Regions from separate parts of the Homo sapiens genome. Here region 2 is linked to region 1. The links are contacts of gene promoters, found by promoter capture Hi-C in blood cells and fetal thymus (Javierre and others, 2016). All regions are on one chromosome and are shown on one strand. Each heading gives the region's core, a stretch centred on a gene start or on the middle of the fragment in contact. The rest is flanking DNA. Distances are from core to core; before and after follow the strand shown. Region 1 has its middle 4.5 kb from the start of NSD1. Region 2 holds the start of DDX41 (DEAD-box helicase 41).

Region 1 (7,515 bases), core at 2,713-5,212:
CCCACACCACCACCACCACCACCACCACAGACCAAGCTGAGCAGGAAACAAAATGGAGGCAGCAGCTCGGGTCTGCCTCCCTGAGCCAAGCCTGTGCAGCCCCAGGGCTCCCTCCTGTCTCAGGCTCGACGCCCGCGAGGCAGAGGCTGGATCGTCCCGGGTGCCGCGGGCAGCCGCCCTACAGCAGCGCAGACGGGCCGGGGACTCGGCCCTGCGGTGCCCACAGCCCCTCACCCACCACCCCTTCCCTTCCCCCTCCCCCCATCCCTCTCCCTCCCCTTGCCGGGCCGTGCGGGGTGAGCGGCTCTGGGGAGCCGGGTCGGGTTACCCGCCCCGGCACTGCTCGCCCGGCCGTGGCCTCCGCGGGGGAACGAAGCCAGGCGACCCCAGCGCTGAGCCCACCCCCGGCACCGAGCCGGGCTGCAGCCTGACAGCGCGTCCGCACCTCGGCCTGCAGCCGTGCGGCCCCCGCCCAGGGAGGCCGAGTCCCCAGCCCGGGCCCAGCCGGGACGAAGCTCCCTCACCACCCCCGAGCCCAGGGGTCCTCGCAGCCTCGGGCGGGGCGAGGGGAACGCCGGGGGAGGGGGTCCTCTAGTCCCTGCACCGCCTCCCGCGCCTAGTCAAGGTCTGGGCCTGGCACGGGGGCTCGGGCAGCGGGCGCCGGCCGGCGTGGGTATGTGCGTGCGCGCCGGGCTGGGGGCCGGGACGGGACGGGCCGCGCCTCGCACCGCGGACGCTGCAGTTCTCGGCACCCAGGCAGATGGCCCTCTCGTGCCACCGCCGCCCAGAGCGGGCCGCCTGCTCCGCAGCCCGGTTCCCCGGGGAGTGCGCGCCTCGCCCCTGAGGGCCGGGCATCTGGACCCCAGCGGAGCTGCGCCGGGACACGGGACCGCCCGGCTGGCCGGGACAAGCCCGCTGGCGCAGCCCTCGGCCTGGGGCCTCACGGCCTGCATCCTGCACCGGGCCCGCAGCACCGAATCTAGCACGACCGCGTGGCGTCCAATCCCCCAAGACAGCGGAAGGGCGGGACAGGGAGCCCAAGCTGGGCCTGAACTTGCGACTCCAGCCCCTCGGGCCCTTCCCCCAGCCCGGACTCCGTCGCCCCCTGGGCTTGATCCCCACCAAGAAGCTCACCTCAGGAGTTACCTGGTCCCTAGGGCGCTAAGCGCCTTCTCGCTGTTCAGAGAAAGCCGGATCCGGCCGCCATAAAAATTCCGCCTCCTCCAGAAAGCCTTCTGTGATTAGATTTGGAGTTAACTCCATCTCAAGCTGAGGGCACCGCCCTCGAGGGCCACGTGACTACTATTCTTCCCATGGCTTAGTAAATGTGCATAGTTATTGCCCCAGTGGACTGTTTACTCACTGCCTTCTGTTAACTTTGAGCCCACCTGGGAGAAAGGCCATTTTTGGCGTTGCCCTGTGTGACATTAGTGCTGGCCAGCTAAACTCCATCCTTCCCCTGCCTTCAGCCAGCGACTGGCCCAGCAGGCGTGGAGCTCGAGATGCTCTTACCCTTTTGCTCTCCAAGGCCCACAGTCCAGTGATGGAGGCTCCCAAGTCAACAGGCCCTTAGCACATGTCTGCAAGTGCCGGATGCAGACCCTGCCAAGACAGCAAGTGGGCTTTGTTAGAGGGAAAGTGCCCACTGGAACGGGACTGATGAGAGGGCTGTGACCTCAGGGAGGCTCCTTCTGTTGAAGAGTCTGAGGTACCCTGAAGATTCTCAGGTGCAAAGTCAGGTTGGTAGTTGTCTATGTGTTGGGACCAACCAGAGAAAAGTCGAGTCTATACCTACAAGGGCCAGCTCTTTGTTCTGCTAGGGTCACTCACCCTGCTAATCCCATCTGGGCAATTCGACTCAACAGGCAAGCTCTGACTGGTTCCTTCTTCACACCTAATAATTTGAGCCAATCATTTTGACTGACAGTTACTCCTCTGCCAATTGCCCCAATTCATCAATGCTCCTCCCAGTCCTTTACTTTGCCACTAACCATCCTGAGGGCCTGAGACCTGCCTTGAACTAGTCACTTAACAGTCCTGAGCCTCAGTTTCCCCATCTGCAACTTCCAATGCACAGCACTGGCTGCGAAGATTCTGTAAGGTAAAGGTCTAAGTGTTAGCAGCCTACACTCAGACTTAGTTATAGGCTGAGCACTTGATGAGTGCTGAAATGTAATTCATCGCTTCATTCAGCAACCATTTCCTGCATTCCAGGCAGTGTGCTGAGTGCTGGGGAAACAAAAGATGAGATCCTGGCCTCGGGAAAAGACAGTTAAATAAAGGTGCTATGGTGTGAAAATAGGGTTGAGACAACAGTTTCTTCCAAAGCTCACCTCTGAACAACACTGCCCTGCAGAACCCCTCTCTCCCACCTCCCAGCTCCTCTGGAAGACTGAGGGCCAAAAGGAGATTGGCAGCTGGGGATGAACTGCTTGCTGACAGGTCTGGGGGAGAAGACCAGGACCCCAGGGAAAACCTCTCAGACTTCTCTGGGATAACCCCTGAGGGCCTTACCTGCCTCTTAGAGTAAAACTTGGCCACAGAGGTCTCAATCACAGCCGACCCATCTCCAGCCTCCCCATCTGGCAGGCCCTGGCCAAGCATCTCATGTGTGCCAGCACTAGGTTGAGAAGATCCACAGCGCCATAGATTCTCACAAGGACACTGACTCCTTGAGTGGGGGCAGAAGGGAGAGGACTGTGTCCCTGTAGGGTGGGGGCCTGGGATGTACACTCAGCTCTCCTCTGGCTGGTTGTCTCAATCCAGGGACCTTTTCTGGGCCTGTGACTCCCATCCTTAGGACTGAGATAAGAATCAGTAAACACTTGCTGGGTCTGTACTAGTGTACTGGACACTGTCCTGGGCACTTCACATACAGTCGTTCCTATGACCCTTCACCAGCCCTACGAAGAATTGAGGTCCAAGAGACTAAGCCCTCATGCAAGGTGTCAGCACCTTAACTCTCACCTGGTATGATGGGCCTCACGTGCTTGCTCTCAGCCTGTCCACCCTACACATACTGCCTGTGAAAAGCCCAGCATGGTGCTTACACACAGGTGCCCAGAAATTTGAATGACAGGCAGAGGGACTCTACCTTGGGCTGAGTTTCCTCATCTGTAAATCTTGGTTACTGATAATTCCTACCCTGGTGAGATATAATAGATACCTGTTGGGACATTTGGCCAATGTACAGTGATCTCTTTTTTCTTAGAACCACCCCTTTTCATTCATTAATTCCATAAATATTTTGGGGCTCCCCGTCACAGCCTTGTGGAAAAAGCAGACAGGTAATAACAAGGCAGAGAACTGAGTACTGAGAGAGAAGCCAAGGGTGCTGGAGAAGCTGAGAATGCCCTTGAAACTAACTCAGGGGTATCCTTGAGGAAGCAACATCCAGAGAGAGTCCTGGAGGATATTCAGGAATAGCCAGGCAAGAAGGGGAAGAGGCAGAGATTCCAGCAGAGTCCAGAGAAACACCAGGCTTCAGAGGAACTGACCACAACAAGCATGTCTAGTGTATGTGCCGGGGCAGAGGTAATGAGTGCAGAAAGAGGCTCAACCAAGGATGGGGCAGACACAGAGCCTCACCCTTCAGGGCTTGGTTGGTTAAGTTAAAGAGTTGAAGCTTTATCTGGAAGGCAGTAAGCAGCCATGGAAGGTGAGGGAGGAGGATAATGACGTGATGGCATCTGAGCAGTAGAAAGCTCACTCTTCTGTGTCCAGAAGACACTGGTTCCTCCCCTAGAAACACAACTCCAGCAAGGGCTCTGCCTGTTGTTACAATAACAGTTGTAGCTTATCCTCCTCTGTTCCAGCTACCCTGCAGGATACTCATTTACTCCTCTGAGATGGGTATTATTGTTATCCCCATCTTCTAGAAAGGAAGCATGACTTGCCCAGAGACAAACTCCCATCCTAGTTCCAGCTCCTTGTTCCCACTGAACAGGAACAGCATCTGCCTTCTGACTAAACAGTTAGGTCTTGGGAGAGGCATGGAGGCCTTTGGTAATTAATCCTGAACATAGCTGGTGAACACCAGGACCATGCCTTCTGATGGGTCTAGGAGCTGTTTCCTTCCTCTCCCCACCCACGGATTTCCCCAAAATTGAATCAGTTTTCAACTTAAGATCAAGGAAGGCCTGACCACATCTGAGACCAGGCAGCCCTCCAGCAGTCTCCTTCCTGCCCCAAATACCAGGTCCTGTCGCTAACCTGAGCCTGTACGCCCAGCCCCAGCCCGAAGGACTCAAGCATCCACCTTTAAGTTTTCTTCTTCTTAAACCTCCTTCTGAAGCTTGGTATGGTGGCCACTAATCCCTGCCCTCCTGCTCTCACTTCCCCCAACTGCCCAGTGCCAGGACAAGCCACATCCTGTCCAGCCTATGCTCATGCCAGTCACTCTGCCTTTTCCCCTGGGCAGACTCCATTCATCCTGTTTAGAAGACTCCTCCTCCTGGTAGTCTTCCCACCCCTACAGGCAGCCATTTTCCCTGAGTCCTGGTAGTAACTAATGGCTTCTAAATCTGGTCTCATCCAGTTGGACAGTCACTTCCAACAAGACTAAGGACATATACTCTCTGACCTCCAGTGAACAAGCCCAGACCGTGAAGCTCAGAGTGAGTGCTCCAGAAACATTTCATGATGCCTGATCTATCCCCTCCTCTCCTCTCCAAGCCTGTGTCTCCATCAGACAGAATTGTGGTTTCAATAACGGACCAAATGAGTTGTACAAAACTCAGATCCTCCCAAAAAGGATTCAAGATGTTTGAGGAACAAACAGCCTTTGGTGCCAGACAATGCTTTACAAAGCATAAGAGGCCAGGTACAGTGGTGCACGCCTTTAGTCCCAGCACTTTGGAAGGCTGAGGCAGACGGATCGCTTGAGCCCAGGAGTTCAAGACCAGCCTGGGCAATATGGCTAAACCTTGTCTCTACAAAAAATACAAAAAGTAGGCCAGGCGCTGTGGCTCACATCTGTAATCCCAGCACTTTGGGAGGCCAAGGCAGGTGGGTCACATGAGGTCAGGAGTTTGAGACCAGCCTGACCAATGTGGTGAAACCCCGTCTCTACTAAAAATACAAAATTAGCCGGATGTGGTGGCACACACCTGTAATCCCAGCTATTCGGGGGGCTGAGGCAGGAGAATCGCTTGAACCCAAGAGGCTGAGGTTGCAGTGAGCTGAGATCGCGCCATTTCACTCCACCCTGGTCCACAAGGCGAAACTCCATTTAAAAAAACAAACAAACAAACAAACAAATTATCCTGGCATGGTGGTGTATGATTCGCACCCATAGTCCCAGCTACTTGGCAGGCTGAGGTGGGAGGATCGCTTGAGCCCAGGATGTGGAGGCTGCAGTGAGCCATGTTCATGCCATTGCACTTCAGCCTGGGTGACAGAGTGAGACTCTGGCTCCAATAAATAAATAAATAAAAGTATAAGAGACCTTATGACCAGGCTCAGTGGCTCATGCCTGTAATCCCAGCACTTTGGGAGGCCGAGGAGGGCGGATCACAAGGTCAGGGGTTCGAGAACAGCCTGGCCAACATGGTGAAACCCCGTCTCTACTAAAGATACAAAGGATTAGCTGGGCGTGGTGGCACGTGCCTGTAATCCCAGCTACAAGGGAGGCTGAGGCAGGAGAATCGCTTGAACCTGGCAGGTGGAAGTTGCAGTAAGCTGAGATCCCGCCATTGCACTCCAGCCTGGGCTACAGGGCGAGACTCCGTCTCAAAAACAAAAAGAGCTTACGTGACCTGGAGTCAGATGGATACAAATTCAAACTGCAGCAGGGCCATTTACCAGGAATGTCATTTTCGCTCTTTGAGCCTCACCAAATGGGATAGCTATGAAGATAAAATATTCAAAGTACGTATAACCTGGCCCTGGGCCCAGCACAAAGCAACTGCCCACTGGGCACCTCCTTCAGGATGCCCCCAGGTTCCTCAACCCAATTATCTGTCTTCTCTCTCCCACCCCAATCCTGCTCCTTCTCTAGGCATCTGATTTTGTTGGATGCACCCCCAGCTTCATATCAAGCCAAGCACTTCTGAACCTACTGATTCAAAACGGAGGAAGAGAAAGTGAGAGAATGCTGGGTTCTGGCAGTGCTTGGATCAGGGAGTGGAAGGAGGAGTATGGGGAAAGGGGGAGGTCTCCAGCCAGTGGCCAGAAAGGTGGCTGCACCTCCTCCTGGGTGAGGATTAGGGTTTATAGCTCACCCACCCACACCTACCCCTTGTTGCCCCTCAAAGAGAAGATATCCTATTTTACAGATGAAAACAAAGGCTGAAAAGCAGCTCATGAAATCACTGCTCTTGCTAGTGGAGGAATGACAAAGAGTTTGTACCCAGTAGTTGCTCAATAAATACTAAAAGGGCTGGGCGTGGTGGCTGAAGCCTATAATCCCAGCACTTTGGGATGCCGAGGTGGGTGGATCACTGGAGGGCAGGAGTTGAAGACCAGACTGGGCAACGAAACCTCATCTCTACAAAAAATTAGCTGGGCGTTGGCCGGACACGGTGGCTCACGCCTGTAATCCCAGCACTTTGGGAGGCCAAAGCGGGCAGATCACAAGGTCAGGAGATCAAGACCATCCCGGCTAACACGGTGAAACCCTGTCTCTACTAAAAATACAAAAATTAGCTGGGCGTGGTGGCGGGCACCTGTAGTCCCAGCTACTCGGGAGGCTGAGACAGAAGAATCGCTTGAACCCGGGAGGCGGAGGTTGCAGTGAGCTGAGATCGCGCCACTGCACTCCAGCCTGGGTGACATAGTAAGGCTCTGTCTCAAAAAAAAAAAAAAAAACCCAGAGGCCAGGTCTGGTGGCTCACGCCTGTAATCCCAGCACTTTGGGAGGCCGAGGTGGGCAGATCACTTGAGGTCAGGAGTTTGAAACCAGCCTGGCCAATATGGCGAAATCCCCTCTCTACTAAAACTACAAAAATTAGCTGAGCGTGGTGGTGCACGCCTGTAATCCCAGCTACTTGGCAGGCTTAGGTAGGAGAATCTCTTGAAGCCGGGAGGCAGAGGTTGCAGTGACCCAAGACCACATCAGTGCACTCCAGCCTGGGTGACAGAGCGAGATTCTGTCTCAAAAAAAAAAAAAAAAAACCCTCCAGAGCTGTAGATTCAGCTAGCTTGATTTATAGAAAATGTGTCTGAAATGGCAAAGGCAGAACCCATCATCAAATCCCTCAGCCAGGCTGGGTGCAGTGGCTCACACCTGTAATCCCAGCACTTTAGGAGGCCTAGGTGGGTGGATCACGAAAGGTCAGGAGTTTGAGACCAGCCTGACCAACATGGTGAAACCCCATCTCCACTAAAAATACAAAAATTAGCCAGCCATAGTGGTGCACACCTGTAATCCCAGCTACTTGGGACGCTAAGGCATGAAAATTGCTTGAACCCGGGAGTCTGAGGTTGCAGTGAGCCAGGATCACACCACTGCACTCCAGCCTGGGCAACAGAGCGAGACTTTGCGTCAAAAAAAAAAAAAAAAAAAAAAAGGCCTTC
Region 2 (7,515 bases), core at 3,576-6,075, 390 kb before region 1:
TCCCGCAGCCACTCACCTGTAGGCCTCTGTTCTATTACTCCTCCCTGGGCCCTGCTGCCCATGCTCCTGAAGGTCCCCTTCCTGGACTGGCATCTCCTAAGGCATAACCATCAGGGTCTTAACCAGCTGATTTCAAAAGTGCCCAGGTAGCCATCAGACCCATGGGGCTGCCCTCACCCCTGATGTTATCAGTCCTTGTGTCAAGTCCCACTTCCTGCCCTGGGCTCCTCAGTGTAGGCTACCAAGGTACTTCCCAGCTGAAGCAGTATAAGAAGGGGCCAGCCCTGAGTGAACATCGTGGGTCATTTAGGCATGGAGGAGTTGATGGGGGCTACCCAAAGCAGGGCAAGCTCCATGAGGATATTGGTAGCCACAGTGCCTCCTAGAGGAAGAGACCTGGGTGCCAGATGGCATTGGCATCCCCTCCCAGCCACCCACACAGGTCCTTTTGTCTGAAACAATGATGTACCAGATGATGATCTGGACTGGGAACAGACAACTGGAGAAGGCACTGGGCCTGGAACCCTATTGATGAAGAGAAGGGCAGCTAGCAGGCAGACCTTGGGCTGGGGGCTGAGTGGCTCTGCAGTTTCATATCTCAACCCTCAGCTGTGTCCCTGGGGTCAGGCCTTTTCCGGCTGGCAACCACACAGCTGTCCTGGAGACTGGAAGGCTGGGGCAGGCAGACTGAGCTCACAAACAACTCACTTCCCCCATGATGGCCCCACCTGTCTTTCTCCTCTTTCCAGTGCCAGGCCAGCTCCTCTCTGGGCCTAAGCAGCAAACTTCCTGGACCCTCAGCTCCCCAGGGGCAGCTCAGAGAGCCTGCAGCCAGGACAGCCTTCAGAGCTGGGGCTCCCTGTGACCCTTGTGCTGCCCCAGAGTCCAGACTGTCTTCTTTACACTCACTTTAGTCCTCCTCTCCTCTGAAGGGGTTGGGCTCAGTCAGCCCCCTTTGCCAAACTGAGATGCCCACAAGCCCCAGAAGTATCTTCCAGATCCAAGGTGGCCTCCTGCCTCTTCTCCACCTCCATGGGAACCAGGAGTAGCAGGAACCCCAGGCACTTCATCTGTTATCCCTACTGAGAGAAAAGAGATCGCATTTCCTCCCACAAGCCCAGTTCTGTCATTCAAGAAATCAAATGCAACTGTCTCCTTCCACTGCCTCCTCTTGACCCTTTTTCACCTGGTCTGGCCTCTTTTCCAAGATAGAAGATGCCCCTCTCCCCACCCCCTAGTAAGCGCTCTCCTTTGAGCCTCTTCACCCTCCCCCGGGCTGTGCACCTACAGTCAGAGGCAGGAGCACAGCTGCACAGCTGGCCTCCCAGCCCCTGCTGATGGACAGCAAGTGCCAAAGGCTGGATCTACTCAAGGATTGTCCCCCACCTTGTCAGGATCCTGGGACTGGGGCTCTGTCTCCCAACCCGTTAACCTGCATCCTCTGCTACAGGTGATCCAGGGAATCTTCAACATTTTCAGCCCAGGGAACAAAAATAGCAGCCAGCTGTTTCTGCTACCAGAGACCCATGGGTACCCAAGTGGCATGGGGAGGCTGGAGCATGGCTCATTGCTTACTGTGATTCTGCTCTTTTTTTCTTTCTCAGGCCCTGCCCAGGCTGAGCTGCTTCAGGGCGTCCTGAGGCCCTGACTGCCAGCTGAAGGCGTATAATTTTTCCCTCCGTGTGCCCCACCTACCCGTCCAAGACCCTCTGTGCTCCCCACCATCCTGGACCAACCAAAAGCTGAACGGATGCCACACTGTGCTGGGGCCCCTTGACCTCAGCAGAGCCGCTTCCTGGTGCTACGCAGCCTCCACACTCAGAGCCCGTGGACTGGGCTGGCCTAAGGGCCAGGGCTGATGGTACTGCTGGCCCAACACTGCTCTCTTTGTGTTTGGTTTTTTTGTTTTTGTTTTTATTTTGTTTTTTTCCAATTCTTTACTTTTGATACTGTGAAGATCTTTCGTGCCGAAAGATAAAGCAACATTTGGACACAGAGTTGGCATGTTGGTGATTTGTGGGTCTGGGCGGGGAGGGAGTTGAGGGTGTGCTCAGAAGCATGGGCTCTCCCTTAGTCACTAACCCTAGCATGCACCATGCATCAGCAGTTTGGTGCTATTGTCCCATTTTACAGGTGAGGAAACTAAAGCCGATAGGAAAGTGACTCAGCTCAACTTAGTCTGGCTGATTAGCATTGAGCGCAGACTGGTATGATTATGGCATCTGTGCCCTTTTCTCCTTTTGGGAGGTCTCTGGTATGTGAGCCTGGGGCAGCCCCTTCCCCACTCTTTCCTGTTTCCCTCTTTGCAAGATGGGTGAGTTGGAGGGGTTGAAGATGGTCTCTGTGCATCTGGATGTGAGAAGAGGTCTAGGAAAGACCCTGAGGCCTTCATGGATCTGTAGCCTGGGCCATCGAGGCCCCTCACACTGACTTCACAGTCAGGGGAAGTTGGGGGTAAATTGAGTTTTTTATAAATTAGATCTGATTTTCCAGTGGGGGTGGGACATGTAGCTGAGGGCTTGAGAGTTAAGAGGATAATGAACTCTTCTGTAAAGTCAAGCAAACTACCTCATCCCCCGAAATGGATCTGGTTTGTAAATTTGGATTTTAATACAATGAGTTTTCCCAAAATGCCCCTGACACACTTGTGTCCAAACTCCATGCCCCAAATTTAGTTTTCGCTCCTAAAACCAACTCGAGGTTATGTGGGGAGCTAACAGGGTCACTAAGAGCCATGTATTTGGGTGTTGTGAGCAGGACCAGAAACCATGTCCTCCATCCCTCCCAGGTTGAGACCCACCATGGGACTGGCAGTAAGCACCAGCTTATTTTTTTTATAGAGATGGGGTCTTGCTATGTTGTCCAAGCTGGTCTTGAACTCCTGGCTTCAAGCGATCCTCCTGCCTTGGCCTCCCAGAGAGCTGGGATTACAGGAATGAGCCACTGTGCCCAGCCTAAGCTTTCTTTACTAAAGAAGACTTCATGAATTCCTGTGTATCCTTCACATCCCAGCTAAGAGGCCATTGTACTGTGAAAACTATGACACTTCGAAAAGCGGTACCTTGTCTTAGGATCTTTCTCTTTAAGACCAGTTATCTGTCTATATTTCTAGTCTCAATCTACATAAGCTCCTCGCACACCAGGTATGTGTCTTGATTATCATCTGCTTGAGCGCAGTGCCAGCGCCCAGCACACACTCTTGAAGGCAAGAAAGCACAGAGCTGACCAAGTCATTCCTTAGAAGTCTCTAATAAAGTTGAAACCACTTACTCTGACAGTCACAGCAGGCATGCTCTGGTCGCAATCTCCTTTTCTGGCCTTAGGTCTGGCTTCCCCATCCCACCCTTGCCGCAATGCTGTTGCCTAGTGAATCTGTGTACTTGCACATCGCCAGACCTGTATTCCTGCAGCGCCCTGGCCCAGGACGCCTCTCCTCTCCCGGCCTGAGATTGCCATGTATTTGGGTGTTGTGAGCAGGACCAGAAACCATGTCCTCCTCCATCCCTCCCAGGTTGAGACCCACCATGGGACTGGCAGTAAGCACCAGCTTATTTTTTTTATAGAGATGGGGTCTTGCTATGTTGTCCAAGCTGGTCTTGAACTCCTGGCTTCAAGCGATCCTCCTGCCTTGGCCTCCCAGAGAGCTGGGATTACAGGAATGAGCCACTGTGCCCAGCCTAAGCTTTCTTTACTAAAGAAGACTTCATGAATTCCTGTGTATCCTTCACATCCCAGCTAAGAGGCCATTGTACTGTGAAAACTATGACACTTCGAAAAGCGGTACCTTGTCTTAGGATCTTTCTCTTTAAGACCAGTTATCTGTCTATATTTCTAGTCTCAATCTACATAAGCTCCTCGCACACCAGGTATGTGTCTTGATTATCATCTGCTTGAGCGCAGTGCCAGCGCCCAGCACACACTCTTGAAGGCAAGAAAGCACAGAGCTGACCAAGTCATTCCTTAGAAGTCTCTAATAAAGTTGAAACCACTTACTCTGACAGTCACAGCAGGCATGCTCTGGTCGCAATCTCCTTTTCTGGCCTTAGGTCTGGCTTCCCCATCCCACCCTTGCCGCAATGCTGTTGCCTGGTGAATCTGTGTACTTGCACATCGCCAGACCTGTATTCCTGCAGCGCCCTGGCCCAGGACGCCTCTCCTCTCCCGGCCTGAGATTGCCACGCTTCCCTGGAAGCGCCCCCCAGGCAGCTCTGTTAGAGCATTTACAGTAATAACCGTTTACATTTATACAGGGCCTCCCACTTCAAAACCACTGCCATCCGTATCTGATGCGTGCCCCACCAGTGAACGTATGTGTCACACAGGCGCAGTCAGGGAGGCAGGGTGTGTCGAGCGGTTTATCCCGCAACCCCGGCGTCCCCGGCAGGGATGAAAGCGCAGGGCCCACGCGAACTCGGCCCGCAGCTCCCGGCCCTAGAGGACGCACTGTCCGCCGGCAGGGGCGTGCCCAAGACGCCATGCTCTGGGAGAGGTTGGGCACCTGGCAGGCCGCCCCGACTCCGGATCAGCTGTCTCCGCTGCGTACGTCTTCCTCTTCCAATGGGCTTGGATTGAGCCTTCTAGCGCATATTCCAAGTCCTCCAATGTCCCACAATGCCTTGCAGCCGGTTTCGCCCTCGGTCCTGGCAACTGTCGCGTAACCACCCATGAAAGCGTCCATGCCTCGCCGTGCGATAGTATCTCCGGAACAAATTTGTCCCTCTGCGCGATCCGGAACTCCGAGGTCGTTCCTACGCGCCGTCGTTCGCCTCTTCACATCGGATTGGGTCTCACGCAAGGATGAGGCGGGGTTTCGCCGTGGCGCGCATGCGTGCAGCAAAGAATGGAGGAGTCGGAACCCGAACGGAAGGTAGGAGAGAGGCGAGACCCCGCGCGTGTGGGAGCGGGCGTGAAGAGGGGAGCAGGCCGTGCCTGACTGGCGTGTGCTTGCAGCGGGCTCGCACCGACGAGGTGCCTGCCGGAGGAAGCCGCTCCGAGGCGGAAGATGAGGACGACGAGGACTACGTGCCCTATGTGCCGTTACGGCAGCGCCGGCAGCTACTGGTGAGGGGCACGCGTCCGGGGAGGGATGGGGCCGTGACCGCGGGGTCGCAGGGGGCGGGCGTGGCCTCGGCCTCCGTGGGGAGGAGGGCAGTCTGAGGAGTGAGCTTCAGTACACCAGGGCGCGGCCCCCAGACAAACGAGGGACCGACGGCTTGATCTGAGGGGTAGGGCAGCTTTGCGCCTCGGGCACAGGATCCTCGCCCCAAAGCCAGGATCCTGACGCTGACCTTGTGGACTCCATGCCCATCCTATCTGTGGATCCCGGGTGGAACCTCAGCTCCAGAAGCTGCTGCAGCGAAGACGCAAGGGAGCTGCGGAGGAAGAGCAGCAGGACAGCGGTAGTGAACCCCGGGGAGATGAGGACGACATCCCGCTAGGCCCTCAGTCCAACGTCAGCCTCCTGGATCAGCACCAGCACCTTAAAGAGAAGGCTGAAGGTGGGCTGGGCAGCACTGCCTGGGCGAGAAAGAAGAAGCTGAGCCTGGTACACCGTTTTGGTATCTGTCTGACATCTTCCACTTCTTTTCTCAGCGCGCAAAGAGTCTGCCAAGGAGAAGCAGCTGAAGGAAGAAGAGAAGATCCTGGAGAGTGTTGCCGAGGGCCGAGGTATGGTTGTAGCCAGGATAGTGAGAAGGTGGACTGAGTCTTCTCCTCCCAGCCCCAGGCATGTTATATCTCAAGGGATCTGGCTTCTCAGAAGCAGGAGCCAGCCCTGAGCCATGTCTCTCTCTTCAGCATTGATGTCAGTGAAGGAGATGGCTAAGGGCATTACGTATGATGACCCCATCAAAACCAGGTATGTCTGTACAGTCTGCAGTTGCCCTTGCTTAGGATGGTACATGCAGGGATGCTCCCAGGCCAGCTATTCCCAGGGCTCTCTTGATCCCTGTTACCCATCCACAGCTGGACTCCACCCCGTTATGTTCTGAGCATGTCTGAAGAGCGACATGAGCGCGTGCGGAAGAAATACCACATCCTGGTGGAGGGAGACGGTATCCCACCACCCATCAAGAGCTTCAAGGAAATGAAGTTTCCTGCAGGTAGTCAGGGGCTGGAGAGAGATACCACACTTTTATAATCAAATGCCTGTGAGGTTATGTCCTGGCTCCCACTGAGCTCAGCCACATCTGCATTGGATCCAGTCACTGGGGCTGGAGGGATTTGAGGAGGAGTTTCTTTAGGTTCCTTGTTGCCTCAGCTGTACGTGTTCATTGTTCTCTGCTGTTACAAAGCTTCAGGAGGAAAGTGCCATTGGGCATAGACACTGGGTACAAATCCTGGCTGCACCTAGCCTGTGGGCCTTGGACAAGTCTCTTTTTTTCTTTTTTTTTTTCCACTCTCTCTCTCTCTCTCTGAGCCTCAGTTTCATCATCTGCAACTTGTAGGGGTAGTGCCAGTTTTACAGGCTTTGGGGCTCTGAGAAAGTACCTGTGAGTCATGAAGACGATGTCGGTTGGTTTTCATAGCCATCCTGAGAGGCCTGAAGAAGAAAGGCATTCACCACCCAACACCCATTCAGATCCAGGGCATCCCCACCATGTGAGTGTGGACTGTGGACCTGGGGTCCTTGAGGAGGGCTGGAACAGGGAGGAGCAATGGCTAGGTGTCCTTCATCTTCTGTTGAAATTGGCCCTCGGGTCATCCTCTCCCAACAGTCTATCTGGCCGTGACATGATAGGCATCGCTTTCACGGGTTCAGGCAAGACACTGGTGTTCACGTTGCCCGTCATCATGTTCTGCCTGGAACAAGAGAAGAGGTTACCCTTCTCAAAGCGCGAGGGGCCCTATGGACTCATCATCTGCCCCTCGGTAAGATAGGCTGGCCTGGAGGGCAGGCCAGAGATTGGGGCTGCCATCTGGTGCCAGCCTTTGTCCCTCTGCCTGCAGCGGGAGCTGGCCCGGCAGACCCATGGCATCCTGGAGTACTACTGCCGCCTGCTGCAGGAGGACAGCTCACCACTCCTGCGCTGCGCCCTCTGCATTGGGGGCATGTCCGTGAAAGAGCAGATGGAGACCATCCGACAGTGAGTGCTGGCGCTCCCTGCCCCCCACCTCTGCCACCTGCGAGTCTGTGGAAAAGCTAAAGGACCCTTTACCTTAGCCACTCCACAGATCTTCACAGAGGGCTGCTGTGAGTGCGACCCTCAAGGAGCTCCCAGTCTAATGGGGAGGTTAGTTGGGGGAGGACAGAGGGATGTGGCCAGGTACTGTGGGAGCACGGCAGATGGAATGGCCCACCTTGCTGGGGACATCTGGGAGGTGGGAGCTCAGAGAAGGCTTTTCCGGGAAGGTGACATTTGAATTGGGAAGAGGGGCAGTCCAGGCTGAAAGCACAGAGGCGGACGGCCCAGGAAGGTCAGGGTCATTCAGTGGTCAGTCAAGGAGGTTGAGGCACTGGGGTAGGGCTGGATCCCAGCGGCACCTGTGTCCTTTCAGTGCTGTGCAGTCCTCTGC

The links. The method cuts DNA at HindIII sites, captures the fragments that hold promoters and counts their contacts. A CHiCAGO score of 5 or more calls a contact.
Region 2: a contact is called between the fragment with the promoter of DDX41 here and a fragment that was not itself captured in region 1, in 1 of 17 cell types (fetal thymus). The highest score is 5.2, in fetal thymus.

The regions. Positions count from the first base shown.
Region 1 is chr5:177,125,554-177,133,068 of GRCh38, reverse strand. It overlaps a transcript of NSD1 not described here. Among named protein-coding and RNA genes, the nearest start is that of NSD1, 4.5 kb to the left of the region's middle. RefSeq lists enhancers at 1-261, 1-305, 1,412-1,965, 3,555-3,604. The HindIII fragment of the contact is 669 bases long and covers 3,628-4,296 here.
Region 2 is chr5:177,514,271-177,521,785 of GRCh38, reverse strand. It overlaps DDX41 (DEAD-box helicase 41), which reads left to right and starts at 4,825. Exons shown (of 17, transcript NM_016222.4): 1 at 4,825-4,867; 2 at 4,951-5,061; 3 at 5,339-5,498; 4 at 5,593-5,667; 5 at 5,797-5,857; 6 at 5,965-6,101; 7 at 6,528-6,600; 8 at 6,717-6,870; 9 at 6,949-7,085. The coding sequence starts at 4,841. FAM193B (family with sequence similarity 193 member B) reads left to right here. Exons shown (of 9, transcript NM_001190946.3): 9 at 1,605-1,997. RefSeq lists enhancers at 4,461-4,730, 4,759-5,583. The HindIII fragment of the contact is 2,611 bases long and covers 3,685-6,295 here.